4 separate regions of the Homo sapiens genome follow, and all the other regions are linked to region 1. Evidence: promoter capture Hi-C in 16 types of primary human blood cells and fetal thymus (Javierre and others, 2016). All regions are on one chromosome and are shown on one strand. The core of a region is centred on a gene start or on the middle of the fragment in contact, and the rest is flanking DNA. Distances in the headings are between cores, read along the strand shown. Region 1 holds the start of HAUS6 (HAUS augmin like complex subunit 6). Region 2 overlaps LOC105375988 (a long non-coding RNA gene). Region 3 overlaps ACER2 (alkaline ceramidase 2). Region 4 overlaps ACER2 (alkaline ceramidase 2).

Region 1 (3,657 bases), core at 753-3,252:
GATCAGGACTCTGTTTTTTCCGGCAACAATTTTACAGACTTTGACTCTTTTTGTCGACAGGAGTCAGAGATTTTTTTTTTGTGGCTGTTCTTTTGCTTTGAGAAGGGTCTTGCTCTGTCACTAGGCTGAAGTGCAGTCGTGCAATCACAGTTTACTGCAGCCTCAGCCTCCCAGGGCCCACGTGATTTTCCCACCTCAGCCTTCTGAGCAGCTGGACCACAGGCGTGCACCACCAGAATGGAGTCAGAGATCTTACAGATGACCTCCATAATGAAAAGCTATGGGTGATAGCATAAACTTCAAAAGGTGCTTTTAGGCTGGGCACGGTGGCTCATTCCTTGGGAGGTCAAGGTGGGCAGGTCGCTTGAGCCCAGGAGTTCGAGCCCAGCCTGGGCAACTTAGTGGCTTTTCTTTCTTTCTCTCTCTCTCTCTCCTCTTTTTTTTTTTTTTTTTTGAGACAGAGTCTCACTTTGTCGCCCAGGCTGGAATGCAGTGGAAGGATCTTGGCTCACTGCAACGTCTGCCTCCCGGGTTCAAGCGATTCTTCTGCCTCAGCCTCCCGAGTAGCTGAGCTGGGATTACAGGCATGCGCTACCACGCCCGGCTAATTTTGTATTTTTAGTAGAGACGGGGTTTCTACATGTTGGTCAGGCTGGTCTCGAACTCCCCACCTCAGGTGATCCGCCCACCTTGGCCTCCCAAAGTGCTGGGATTATAGGCGTGAGCCACTGTGCCCCGCCTCTCTCTCTTTTATTAAGGTGATTTTAGTGAGGCAGGAGACAATCATTGCCAGAGGTAGCAATGAGACTTAAAAGCAGGTTACCCAATCCACTTCCAGGCCCTGTTGTCAGTGGGGTTTGTGGTAGGCAACAGCTGTCAATTAAGACGACGGGCCGGGTGCGGTGGCTCACGCCTATAATCCCAGCACTTCGGGAGGCCGAGGAGGGCGGATCACGAGGTCAGGAGATCGAGACCATCCTGGCTAACAGGGTGAAACCCCGTCTCTACTAAAAATACAAAAAATTAGCCCGGCGTGGTGGTGGGAGCCTGTAGTCCCAGCTACTCGGGAGGCTGAGGCAGGAGAATGGCGTGAACCTGGGAGGCGGAGCTTGCAGTGAGCCGAGATTGCGCCACTGCACTCCAGCCTGGGAGACAGAGCTAGACTCCGTCTCAAAAAAAAAAAAAAAAAAAAAAAAAAAATTAAGAGGACTGCAGGCGGCCAGGCGCAGTGGCTCACGCCTGTAATCCCAGCACTTTGGGAGGCCAAGACCGGCAGATAACCTGAGGTCAGGAGTTCGAGACCAGCCAGCCAACATGGTGAAACCCCGTCTCCATTAAAAATACAAAAAAATTAGCCGGGCGTGGTGGCGGACACCTGTTAATCCCAGCTACTCGGGAGGCTGAGGCAGGAGAATCGCTTGAACCCGGGAGGCGGAGGTTGCAGTGAGCCGAAATCGCGTCACTGCACCCCAACTTGAGCAACAAGAGCGAAACCCCGTCTCAAAAAAAAAAAAAAAAAAAAAAAAGACTGCAGGACTGCAGGGGAGTATAGAGCCAGATTTCATTTAAAGCAGGAAAAGGAACATCCGGCATTTGAGGACATAGATTTCGCTAACGACAGAAATGAGGCTCAGAGATTACGTGACTTGATTAGAGTCACAGTGAGCATAGCGGAGGATGGAACCAATGCTTTAACTCTACACCGAGGCATAGTGCTCCATTTATGGCTTTTTTGTGACGTAACAACTAGGATACACAAGCAAATGGACCCCACTAACCAAGAATCAGAAACCCGAAGGCCCGAGGATCTGGGCACGACAGCGGTTAAGCAAGCGCAGAGCAAGTCGCTGGCCGCGCAATGCCCGGTGGGTCTTGCAGTTTCTTGGCTGGGCATGGCCGGAAGGGAGGAGAGAAGGACGCATTGCATGGCGGGAGATATAGTCTTTGCCGGAAGTCCCTCCTCCCTCGGACGCCTGGCGGCGCCGGCGCACACTGCTCTTCCTTAAGGGCGGGAGTCTCGGTTTGTGGTGGCTTCGCTGAGGCAGTGGTGGCCGCACTATACCGTTAGAAACTCAATTTCCCGGAGGTTGTGAGGCCCTTTGAGGCGAAATCGCTCTGGGCGTGAAAGGAGCAGGCGTTGGCAATGGAAGGACCACCGCGACCTCAGGCTGACCGTAGGGAGGGATCTTGAGGGCCCTCCGAGTCCCCTGGGCTTGCGCTTTCTTTCTTTGCAGCCACCGTGCCTACCGCGAGGATGAGCTCGGCCTCGGTCACCGCTTTCGAGAAGGAGCATCTCTGGATGTATCTGCAGGCGCTCGGCTTCGAGCCAGGCCCGGCAACCATTGCCTGCGGAAAGATCGTGTCGCACACGCACCTCGGAGTGTAAGGAGGCCGGGGCCGGCGGGGCGAGGGAGCCTGAACCGGGGGACGCCGGGGGACTCCCCCTTTTGTAGACCCCGGAGGTTGATTAATCAGAATTGGTTGAGCAGTTACTCTGTGCCAGGCATTGGCTCCAAAGTTCCTACTCCCAGTTGCTGCCAGCCTAGGGGCAGAGACAGACAGTAAATAATGCAAGAGTGCCGGAAGCGCTCTGTAGGGGAGTGCAAAAGTCTGCAGATGGGGAGAGTGCAAGACTGGAGGAGCAGCTTAACTCTGCCTATGTGGTGGAGGGGTGGTCTGTGAAGTAGTGGGAGGGATGGCGGGTGGTAGTGGAAGAGCATGGGAACCATATGTACAAAACACCTTTTGGACTCAAGGGAGCCTTTGAAGGTGGTTGTTTAATTTTATAATTTTTAATTTTTTAATTAGTAAGGCATGTTGGAGTTAGCATAAAACAACGGAGAAGGGTATTAAAAACAAATACCCTTTTAAGAAAAGTATGGAAAGTAAAAGCCCCTTCCCTACTTTTTCCACTTCTGTTTTATCAACTTTAGCCAGTATCTCTATTTAATCATTCCCACTGTAGGCCAAGAGGAATTCTTTTCTTTCATATGGAGTCTCCCTCTGTTGCCAGGCTGGAGTGCAGTGGCACGATCTCGGCTCACTGCACCCTCCAACTCCCTGGTTCAAGCGATTCTCCTGCCTCAGCCTCCCGAGTAGCTGGGATTACAGGCACTTGCCACCACGCCCAACCAATTTTTGTATCTTTAGTAGAGACGGGGTTTCACCATGTTGGCCAGGATGGTCTCGATCTCCTGAGCTCATGATCCACCTGCCTCGGCCTCCCAAAGTGCTGGGATTACAGGCGTGAGCCACCGTGCCCGGCCTCTATTTTTTTAAAGTATTATTATTTTAGAGACAGTAGCTAACCATGTTGCCCAGGCTGGTCTCAAAATTCCTGGGCTCAAGCAATCCTCCTGCTTCGGTCTTCCAAAGTGCTGGGATTATAGATATGAGCCATTGTTTTTTGTTTTGAGACAGGGTCTCCCACTCTGTCGCCCAGTCTGGAGTGCAGTTGTGCGATCACAGCTCACTGCAGCCTCCAACTCCTGGGCTCAGGCGATCCTCCCACTTCACCCTCCTGAGTAGCTGGGACTACAGGTGCGTGGCACCATGCCTAGGGTCGGCATGTTGCCCAGGCTGGTCTTGAGCTCCTGGCCTCCAGCAATCCCCCCGCCTTGGCCACTCCAAGTGCTGGGATTACAGATGTGAGCCACC
Region 2 (3,657 bases), core at 584-3,083, 380 kb before region 1:
CCTCCATGTGCACAGATGAGGAAGACCTCCTCATCAGCCAGCATGCTTGAAGTCACTTTCCTGCAAATCCAAGGAGTTTCTCAGCTTGGCAGCCAGACAGACTCATGTAGCTGTATTAGAAGTGATGCTAACCAGGCACAATCAAGACTCTTTAAAATACAGTGTGGGCTGGGCGCAGTGGCTCATACCTGTAATCCCAGAATTTTGGGAGGGTAAAGCAGGAGGATCACTTGAGCGCAGGAGTTCAAGACCAGCCTGGGCAACATAGCGAGATGCTCGTCTCTAAAAAAAAAAAAAAAAAAAAATAGCCAGGCATGGTGCTATGTAACTGTAGTCCCAGCCAGTTGGGAGGCGGAGGTGGGAGGATGTCTTGAGCCCAAGAGTTTGAAGCTGCAGTGAGGTTTGATTATGCCACTGCACTCCAGCCTGGGTGACAGAGTGAGACCCTGTCTCTACCAAAAAATGTAAAAACATAAAAGTAATTGGCCTGGTGTGGTGGCACACTCCTATAGTCCCAGCTACTGGGGAGGCTAAGGCAGGAGGATTGCTTGAGCCCAGGAGTTCAAGGCCACGTGAACCATGATCAAACCACTGCACTCTAGCCTGAGTGACAGAGCAAGATCTTGTCTCAAAAAAATAATAATAAAACAAAATAAAGATTGTGGCTGACTCTGCCCCTCAGTGAGCCATGAGAGTCACCTGAGATGCAGCTATCCTGGGTGGTTTCAAAGAGAAGGAATCCAGAGAAGGGCAACCTAAGTGCTGAAGACACAGGCCCTGGAGCAAATAGCAGACTTCTGGTCACTGCTCATTACTGGCACCGGCTCAGTGGTGCCTGACTGGGGAACAGCCTCAGAGGAAGCTGCCCCAGCCTCGCCAGAGTGGGAGAGGACAAGGAACGCTCTCCTGGACCAAAAGCAGAGAAATTATCTCAACCCACACACCCGAAGAAAACAACATGGACATCATCCCTGAAAACATCTCCCCACGCAGGCAGGACGTCCCATCTTTTTGCCTTTTTCTTTTTAATGCCTCCTTCGGGCAGAGAGAATGGTCTGGTTAGGTCCAAGTTTTGACATTAGAGTGTTGACAGGATAAGTAGTCCATAAACTGAATACCCTGCAATCTGAGCTGGGCCACCAAAAATCCCATTCTTGGGGCCCCAAATATCTGTCCTTTTCTTAAAAAACACTTTCTAATGTCTATTTGTAGGTGGAAGGATGATGATGACCTGTAGAATGGTAGGTCATGGTCAGTTCTCCATCCACCAGGTGGGACAAGGAGACAATGTAGAACAGTGGCTCCCAAACTTGGCATGCATCCAAATCACTGCAGGGATGTTGAAGCAGATTGCAGGGTCTTCTTTTCAGAGTTCCCAATTCAGTAGGCTGTTGGTGGGGCCAAGTAATTTTCATTTTAATGAGTCTACAGATGATGTGGATGCTGCTGAGAACCACTGGAGCAGAAGATAATGTTAGTTGGTTTTATTTCTTAAAGCATAAAATATTAGCCATCTGCAGATAAAGAAGACTGAAGGGACTGTGTAACAAGCATTTTCATTCTGTCTTTTGATATGTCCATCCCTTAAATAGGTGTAGTCCTTTGGATTTTCATCCCTTCAGACTGATTCTGAAAGCCAATTTAACCTGATTTTACCTTGATAAAAACAAAAAATAGTGGGCCCACAAATCTGTAAGAAAAAGACAACTGGCCCAATAGAAAAATGAGCAAACAATGCAGGCAGGCCTTTCACAGAAGAGGAAACAGAAATTGCCAATCGACCTCTGAAAAGAGGTTCAATCTCACTGGTAATCAGTAAGATGTAAATTAAACCCACAATGAAATACCATTTCATAGCAACCACAATGGCTAAAGTTTCAAAGTCAGACACTGCTTCATGAGGGTGTGGAAAACAGCTATTTTCATGCATTGCTAGTGGATGGAAATAGGCACAACTTCTTTAGAAAACAATTTGGCACTTCTGATGAGGTTATGTAAGTCCTCTAGCAATTTAACACTTAGGAAAATAACCTAGAGAAACTCTTGGACCTTTGCTCCAGGAGACAGATAAGACTGTTCAGAGCTGTGCAGCTCACAGCAACAAAAGCTGCAATGTTTATTGACAGAAGATGGAGAAACGGTGATGTATTCATCAAATGGATGGCAGTCAGCAGAAAAACTATATGAACTGCGGCTATAGATATCAATAGGATGAAGCTCAAAAACAATGCTGGCTGGAAGCAACTCACAAAAGGAACATATCATGTGATTCCATTTATGTAGTAAAAACCTCAGAGTACATTATTTAGAAGTCCATACAGGATACCCTTGGAGGAGGGAGGAGGTAGATTTGGAGAGAAGCACATAGGGGTACGGTGATCAGCTGTCCAGGCTGAGACTAAATGGTTAACTAGGACCTGCGACGTTCAGTGCTAAAACCAGGACAGTTCTGGACAAACCAGAAGGAGGCAGTCACCCCTTGGACAGGTTCAAAGATATTGGTAATGTTTTAGTTCATTACAGCTGAGATATGAGAACACAGTGGTTTTTTATTTTTGTTTAGTCTTTTAAAATGTATGTATATGTCACATAAACTTTTGTATGTGTGATATATTTTACAATTTGTAAAAATGTGCAAAATGTTGAAAAAATACACAAAGAAAGATATACCATGACAGAGGATAAAACTGTAAATCAGTACAACTTTTCTGGAGGGCAATTTGGCAACAATATATTTCAAAAGCCGTAACAATACACATAATCTTTAATCCAGAAAGTTAACTTCCACGATTCAACACACTGGAAAAAAATCAGATATGTGAGTACAAATGTGTACATAGAGGTGTTCATTATTACAGTAATTATAATATCAAAAAATTAGAAATGTTAAATGTTCAGCAAAAGGAAATTTTAAAATTAAGGTACATTCATATGGTTTATAATTCTGCACCCATTTATTTATTTATTTATTTATTTATTTTATCCTTTTTTTCTATACTTTAGGAATACCAGGGTACTAATGTTTTTTTGTTACATGATGAATTGTGTAGAATTCATCTACATGTTGGGTACAACGTACACTCCTCAAGTGACTGGTGCACTGAAACCTGAGACTTCAGCACTCCTCACCCGAGTAGTGTACGTTGTACCCAGTATGTACTTTTTAACCCACAGCCCTCTCCCGGTTCCTTCCCCTGAGTCTCCAGTGTCCAATATAACACTCTGTTTGCCCTTGTGTCCACATAGCTTAGCTCCCCCTTGTAAGTGAGAACATATGGTATTTGGTTTTTCCATTCCTGAGTTATTTCACTTAGAGTAATGGCTTCCAGCTCCATTCATGTTGCTGCAAAAGACATTATATTGTTCTTTTAATGGCTGAGTAGTATTCCATGGTGTATATATACCACATTTTCTTTACCCACTCCTCAGTTGATGGGCACTTAGGTTGGTTTGATATCTTTGTAATTGTGAATTGTCTGCACCTATATAAATTACGTTAATTTCTAAAATTAAAAGCATACAAAAAAAGGACTGTGGTTATTGTCATAAAACATCTTCAGAGGCCGGGCACGGTGGCTGACGCTTGTAATCCCAGCACTGTGGGAGGCCGAGGCGGGCGGATCACCTGAGGTCAGGAGTTTGAGACCAGCCTGACCA
Region 3 (3,657 bases), core at 444-2,943, 350 kb before region 1:
ACCCACTGTAATGATACAGATAATGCTTATCCAGTCTTTCTTCTCTTACGATTTTTCTTTTTTTTTTTTCTTTTTGATAAATGGTCTCACTGTTTGGCCCAGGCTGGAGCACAGTGGCACGATCTCTGCTCACTGCAACCTCTGCCTCCTAGGCTCAAGCAATCCTCCCACCTCAGCCTCCTGCGTAGCTGGGACTACAGGTGTGTATCACCACACCTGGCTAATTTTTGTAATTTTGGTAGAGACAGGGTTTTACCATGTTGCCCAGGCTGGTTTTGAACTCCTGAGCTCAAGCGATACACCCACTTCAGCATCCCAAAGTGCCAGGATTACAGGCATGAGCCACTGTGCCCAGACTATTCTTCTAAATCTGATGATCTGTGAGTCCTTTCAGTTTAAAAAACTGCCACAGAAAATTAAAAGAAGTAGGTAAAAATTTTCCTGCTAAATTTATGATTTTAAAATGTCACGATCTTCCTTCTAGTGATTTGATGAAATCCAGCATAAATGAACTGTATTCTATATTTGAGATTTTTGGGTTTTTTTTTTTTTTTTGAGACAGAGTCTCGCTCTGTCACCCAGGCTGGAGGGCATTGGTGCAACCTTGACTCACTGCAACCATCGCCTCCCAGGTGAAAGTGATTCTCCTGCCTCAGCCTCCTGACTAGCTGGGACTGCAGGTGCGAGTTACCATGCCCAGCTGATTTTTGTATTTTTTTTAGTAGAGACGGGGTTTCGCCATGTTGGCCAGGTTGGTCTCGAACTCCTGACCTCAGGTGATCCACCCACCTTCCCCTCCCAAAGTGCTGGGATTACAGGCACGAGCCACCGCACCAGGCCTATATTTGAGATTTATATCTATATGACATGACTATAGAAGTTTTAGTAAAAATAAACTGTTCTTAGGTATTTTATGCTGGAAATATTTTCATGTGTTAATTTCACAGCTCTGAGAAGAAACCAACAAGGAACAACAATTACTTTACGCATTTTTAATAACAATGGTACCCAATTCATTAACAAATGAATTTAGGCAATGTGCTTTGCTCTACAATCCATCAGATACATTTTCACTGCAGATAGTTCAGAAATCATTTTGGAAATAGACACAAACATGTACATATTCATTTGCTGAAAATGCCACTTACAGCTTTAATATCAAATATAGTTATCATAGTTCACAGAAAAAGTATAAAGTGCAAAAGCTCCACTTCAAAAGGCCTTAAGTCACTCCCAAAGCAATGAGGATTAAATTTTACCACAGCCAGTGGGCATGCCACCCTTATGTAGGACACCTACATAAGGTATAAAACAAGGTATATATCTGAAAACACTATATTGCTCTGATTACATATTGTGGTTATAAAATAGTTTTAAATCTGGTTTAACATACAGAGAAAGATACAATTCAAACAATTAGTCCTATAAAGTAGGGGTTATTTATTTTTTTAAGTTTGCAGGGGAATTATGTCTATAAAATCCATTGAGAATCCCAATCTGGCCCAAGACTTCTCTTTGGCCAGCTGGAATAATAGCACCTAGGCAAAGCCTTGGCTATGAAAGCTTTCAGATTAATTTCAGTGTAAAAGGAGCTAGGAGAGGGGCCCTGACTGGGTGAGCTTCAGCATCCACCTGGTCCCTCAGAGATGGTTCCATGTCTGCCCCAAGGGATAAAGAGCCAGGAAGGCTCAAATCCCAGTCCTGAGGGCTCATGGAAGCATGATGAACTGGCGAGAGAAGTTTTACACACCTGACAGATCCAGTAAGTGGAATAGGTGGTCGTATTTTTACAAAGCCTTGTGTTTGATGACCATCAAGCTTTGTCCCTCAACAGAACATCTTTGATCTATAATTAATGTTTTAGGCACTCTTCACTGGACAGGCATAGAGTTCCCCAAAAATGCAGCCCATCCCCAAATGGATTCAGAGATCTCATCTCCACACACCTTAAATGTGTTCATGGAAGGACTTGATTTATAATGATGTAATCATAAAGGGAAGAAAATATTACTTTTTCTAATAATCAACAACTAAACACTGTAAAACATGAATCGCTGACTGAAATGATCACTCGGAAACATGAATGGTTTTTTATAGCCTAACTCCAGTTTCTGCTGGGTATTGATCTTGGGCAAATTCTGACCAGAACAAAATCTGATTAGCCATGCCAAGTAACCACAACCATGACCTAACTCCTAAGTGTCAGCCCTACTGAAGGGAGGGAGATTCTTGACTGCCCATCAATTAATGAAATAAACTATTCATTTTTTACAATCTGAACATATCAAAATCTGTAAAGTCACATATTTAACAGCTATTTATGATGACTCACCAAGCCAAGTGCAGAGGCACATCAAAAAGTACAATTACATTCATTACTTTTTGGAGCCCATTCATGTTAGGCTTGATTAAAAAGGTAGACTCAGTAGTCAGTCTCAGAATCCAGTGATCAGCATTCAAGCATATAGCTAACTCTAGTGTATTCCAAACCTACACTTCATGAAAAAATATACAACTGGCATTTACATGCCATTCAAGCTACAGGATAAATGTCAACTCTGAAAGACATCATTTATTTACAACTATATTGGGGGAAAAAAGAGGAGACCAAACCAAAATATTAACAAGGATTATACCTGGGCAATAGAAATATGGGTTACTTTTTTTTTTCTTTGACTTCTCTGTAGTTTCCCAATTTTCTTTAAAGAGTTTGTAGTGCTTTTACATATATGAGCGATGCCATAAACCCAACTTAAAATAAGATGGGTATATTTCTACTCTCTTGGTTTACATCCCATGCTGGCAAGCTAGAGTGATTTCTGTTCAAAAGTGAAGTTATGTTTTGTCCTCCTCAAATATACTCCATTCCACATTTCTTTCTCAGCTCATCTCTTTAAAACCAGTTTCTAGAAGCACATTCTGCTTCTCACATTAAAAAAAAAAAAAAAAAAAAAAAAAAAAAAGCCGGGCTTAAAATATATACCAAACCCCCTACCTTGGAGCATTTATACCATAAAGTAGATGAGACCAGAATCCATGCCTGATAAGGTCAATCTAAAATAAGAATGAGCTGATATTTGCCTTTAAAAAATTCTAGACTTGAAACCCAAAGGACTTAACAGCAGTTCTGTTCCATCAACCTCCTAGGTCTCAAAGAGATACATTAGAAATTCTACGAATATTTAATTCAAAGATCATTTTAAAAATATTTTTTAGGCCAGGCGTGACGGCTCATGCCTATTCCCAGCACTTTGGGAGGCCGAGGCGGGCGAATCTCTTGAGCCCAGAAGTTTGAGACCAGCCTGGGCAAAATGGTGAAACCCCATCTCTATGAAAAAATACAAAAATTAGCTGGGAGTGGAGGCACGCACCAGTACTCCCAGCTCCTGGGGAGGCTGAGGTGAGAGGATCACTTGAGCCTGGGAGACAGAGGCTACAGTGAGTCATGACTGCACCACTGCACTCCAGCCTGGGTAATAGAGCAAGACCCTGACTCAAAAACAAAACACTCTCTCTATATATATATAAAACTATAATAAACCAACATATACATTCATTCAACACCTAATTTTTCTACCTTGGAAATTACCAATTTGTTAATTTGCATTTTCACCACCTCATATATTATTAAGTAAATGCCATAAATTTAACCTTAAA
Region 4 (3,657 bases), core at 707-3,206, 330 kb before region 1:
TAAAGATGGGGAGGGGAGCCAGACTGCAAGGGATTCAAGAAGGAAGGGCAGGCTGGCTGCAGTGGCTCACACCTGCAATCCCAATACTTTGGGACGCTGAGGCAAGAGGACTGCTTGAGGCCAGGAGTTTGAGAACCCCTGAGCACAGTGGGACTTTGTCTCTATTAAGAAAAAAAAAAAAAAGAAGGGCTTTCTTCTTTCTTCTTTTTCTGTTTTTTGAGATAGAGTCTCGCTCTGTCACCCAGGCTGGAATGCAGTGGCACAATCGCGGCTCACTGCAAGCTCCGCCTCCCGGGTTCACACCATTCTCCTGCCTCAGCCTCCCAAGTAGCTGGGACTACAGGCGCCCGCCACCATGCCCAGCTAATTTTTTGTATTTTTAGTAGAGACGGGGTTTCACTGTGTTAGCCAGGATGGTCTCCATCTCCTGACCTCGTGATCCGCCCTCCTCGGCCTCCCAAAGTACTGGGATTACAGGCATGAGCCACTGCGCCCGGCTTTTTTTTTCCTTTTTTTGAGACAAGTCTCACTCTGTCACCCAGGCTGGAGTACAGCAGTGTGATCTCAGCTCACTGCAACTTCTGCCTCCTAGGTTCAGGCGATTCTCCTGCCTCAGCCTCCTGAGTAGCTGGGATTACAGGTGCCCACCACCATGCCCAGCTGATTTTTGCATTTGAGTACACAAGTTCCCAAAAGAAAATGCTAATGCAAAGAGCAAAACCTTTACCTAATAGATTGTAAATGAGACATTAAGCCTCAGAGAAAGTATCATAGTCAACTGCAGTCCACCTGAAGTGCATATTTCCTTATAGATACAAACTCACTTTCCCTGCCCCCTTCCTCTTTTTCCTTCTGTGTGTGAATGCGATAACCTTTCTAGGACTTTTCTTTTCTACAGAATTAAGTCTAGACAGCTTGATCTAGGTACTGAGATGGTCCTGGTAAGCTAGCTTGTGATCAGTGGGATGCACTGCATCTGCTCAACAGCTGCTCCCCTCCTACTGAAAATGAGATTACCAGTATTTTGAACCAAACCATCAAATTGCTTCCATCCAACAGTCAGCAACTAACTCTTCACAAGGAATAAAACTCCTCTTCTGCTACAGGACAGCAAAGAAGCCCCGAACTGGTGTGTTCCCAGCACGGGGACAGCTAAGGGTAGGCAGGAATGATGGCACCTACCTCTTTAGCTCTGCGATGAGCAGTGCAGTGCAAGGAACTCCCAGGGTCATCAGAGAGATGTTGTTGATGGCAGGCTTGACAAATGCCAGGCACGTCGTAACCGCAGACAGGACACTGACCACCACCTTGAACCTACCCCTGAATCCATGAAAGCAAAACCAAATCCATTAGAAAAGGAGTTCTTGTTTGTTTGTTTGTTTAATGTTAGCAAGGTACAGGCATTGCCAGAAATACAAGCTGAAAAGAAATTCTGCGCTAAGTACCAAGGTTCAAAAAGCCACTCACGGCGACAGAGCGAGACTTCGTCTTAAAAAAAAAAAGAGAGGGTCTCCCTCTCATGCCGAGCCGAAGCTGGACTATACTGCTGCCATCTCGGCTCACTGCAACCTCCCTGCCTGATTCTCCTGCCTCAGCCTGCGGAGTGCCTGCAATTGCAGGCGCGCACCGCCACACCTGACTGGTTTTCGTATTTTTTTGGTGGAGACGGGGTTTCGCTGTGTTGGCCAGGCTGGTCTCCAGCTCCTAACCGCGAGTGATCCGCCAGCCTCGGCCTCCTGAGGTGCCGGGATTGCAGACGGAGTCTGGTTCACTCAGTGCTCAATGGCGCCCAGGCTGGAGTGCAGTGGCGTGATCTCGGCTCGCTACAACCTCCACCTCCCAGCTGCCTGCCTTGGCCTCCCAAAGTGCCGAGATTGCAGCCTCTGCCCGGCCGCCACCCCGTCTGGGAAGTGAGGAGCGTCTCTGCCTGGCCGGCCATCGTCTGGGATGTGAGGAGCCCCTCTGCCTGGCTGCCCAGTCTGGAAAGTGAGGAGCATCTCTGCCCGGCTGCCATTCCATCTGGGAAGTGAGGAGCGCCTCTTCCCGGCCGCCATCACATCTAGGAAGTGAGGAGCGTCTCTGCCCGGCCGCCCATCATCTGGGATGTGGGGAGCGCCTCTGCCCCGCCGCCCTGTCTGGGATGTGAGGAGCGCCTCTGCCCGGCCGCCACCCCGTCTGGGAGGTGAGGAGCGTCTCTGCCCGGCCGCCCCGTCTGAGAAGTGAGGAGACCCTCCGCCCGGCAGCCGCCCCGTCTGAGAAGTGAGGAGCGTCTCCGCCCGGCAGCCACCCCGTCCGGGAGGGAGGTGGGGGGGTCAGCCCCCTGCCCGGCCAGCCGCCCCGTCCTGGAGGAGGTCAGCCCCCTACCCGGCCAGCCGCCCCGTCCGGGAGGTGAGGGGCACCTCTGCCCGACCGCCCCTACTGGGAAGTGAGGAGCCCCTCTGCCCGGCCAGCCGCCCCGTCCGGGAAGGAGGTGGGGGGGTCAGCCCCCCGCCCGGCCAGCCGCCCCATCCGGGAGGTGAGGGGTGCCTCTGCCCGGCCGCCCCTACTGGGAAGTGAGGAGCCCCTCTGCCCGGCCACCACCCCATCTGGGAGGTGTGCCCAACAGCTCATTGAGAACGGGCCAGGATGACAATGGTGGCTTTGTGGAATAGAAAGGGAGGAAAGGTGGGGAAAAGATTGAGAAATCGGATGGTTGCCGTGTCTGTGTAGAAAGAGGTAGACATGGGAGACTTTTCATTTTGTTCTGTACTAAGAAAAATTCTTCTGCCTTGGGATCCTGTTGATCTGTGACCTTACCCCCAACCCTGTGCTCTCTGAAACATGTGCTGTGTCCACTCAGAGTTAAATGGATTAAGGGCGGTGCAAGATGTGCTTTGTTAAACAGATGCTTGAAGGCAGCATGCTCATTAAGAGTCATCACCACTCCCTAATCTCAAGTACCCAGGGACCCAAACGCTGCGGAAGGCCGCAGGGTCCTCTGCCTAGGAAAACCAGAGACCTTTGTTCACTTGTTTATCTGCTGACCTTCCCTCCACTATTGTCCTATGACCCTGCCAAATCCCCCTCTGTGAGAAACACCCAAGAATGATCAATAAAAAAAAAAAAAAAAAAAAAAAAGCCACTCACACTCACTGGCCTAGGAATTCCACTTCGAGAAACTTAGCCTTAGGAAATAATCAGATATTTTCAAAATTATTTGGCCATGAGAATGGTAAAATTACAGTCAACCTACTTCACTGAAGGTGAGATATGGATAGCTGTTTTCTTCGTGCGATTTTTCCGTATGTTTTCAGATGTTCGATTTCTCTGTATTTTTTCAGACGTTCTACAGCAGGGTTTAACAATTTTTTTCTATGAAGGGTTTTTGGGTTTGGGCTGGGTATGGTGGCTCACACCTGTAATCCTAGCACTTTGGGAGGCCAAAGTAGGAGGATGGCCTGAGCCCAGGAGTTTGAGTTTACAGTAAGCTATAACCTAAAAATAAAATAAATTTTATATATGTATATTTTTAATTAAATATATTTATATATATGTGTAAAGAATATATATTATATATTTTATATATAACTATATTATACATATCTATATATAGCATAACTATATGGTTATAAGTATAATTAAATATGTGCATTAATAAATATGTGTAATTATATTAAA

What was found. Contacts are between HindIII fragments. The CHiCAGO score rates a contact against its expected background, and 5 or more counts as called.
Region 2: a contact is called between a fragment that was not itself captured here and the fragment with the promoter of HAUS6 in region 1, in 1 of 17 cell types (total B cells). The highest score is 5.4, in total B cells.
Region 3: a fragment that was not itself captured here is called in contact with the fragment with the promoter of HAUS6 in region 1 in 15 of 17 cell types (naive B cells, total B cells, total CD8 T cells and 12 more); the score reaches 30.7 in naive B cells.
Region 4: a fragment that was not itself captured here is called in contact with the fragment with the promoter of HAUS6 in region 1 in 11 of 17 cell types (naive CD8 T cells, naive B cells, activated CD4 T cells and 8 more); the score reaches 12.6 in naive CD8 T cells.

What each region holds. Positions count from the first base shown.
Region 1 is chr9:19,101,249-19,104,905 of GRCh38, reverse strand. It overlaps HAUS6 (HAUS augmin like complex subunit 6), which reads left to right and starts at 2,002. Exons shown (of 17, transcript NM_017645.5): 1 at 2,002-2,382. The coding sequence starts at 2,255. RefSeq lists an enhancer at 1,760-2,323. The HindIII fragment of the contact is 8,228 bases long and covers 1-3,657 here.
Region 2 is chr9:19,477,739-19,481,395 of GRCh38, reverse strand. The region is part of intron 1 of LOC105375988 (a long non-coding RNA gene); the gene reads right to left. Among named protein-coding and RNA genes, the nearest start is that of MAP1LC3BP1, 16 kb to the right of the region's middle. The HindIII fragment of the contact is 6,627 bases long and covers 1-3,657 here.
Region 3 is chr9:19,452,494-19,456,150 of GRCh38, reverse strand. ACER2 (alkaline ceramidase 2) reads right to left here. Exons shown (of 6, transcript NM_001010887.3): 6 at 3,646-3,657. Among named protein-coding and RNA genes, the nearest start is that of MAP1LC3BP1, 9.1 kb to the left of the region's middle. The HindIII fragment of the contact is 255 bases long and covers 1,566-1,820 here.
Region 4 is chr9:19,432,610-19,436,266 of GRCh38, reverse strand. ACER2 (alkaline ceramidase 2) reads right to left here. Exons shown (of 6, transcript NM_001010887.3): 4 at 1,183-1,320. Among named protein-coding and RNA genes, the nearest start is that of ACER2, 25 kb to the right of the region's middle. The HindIII fragment of the contact is 6,564 bases long and covers 1-3,657 here.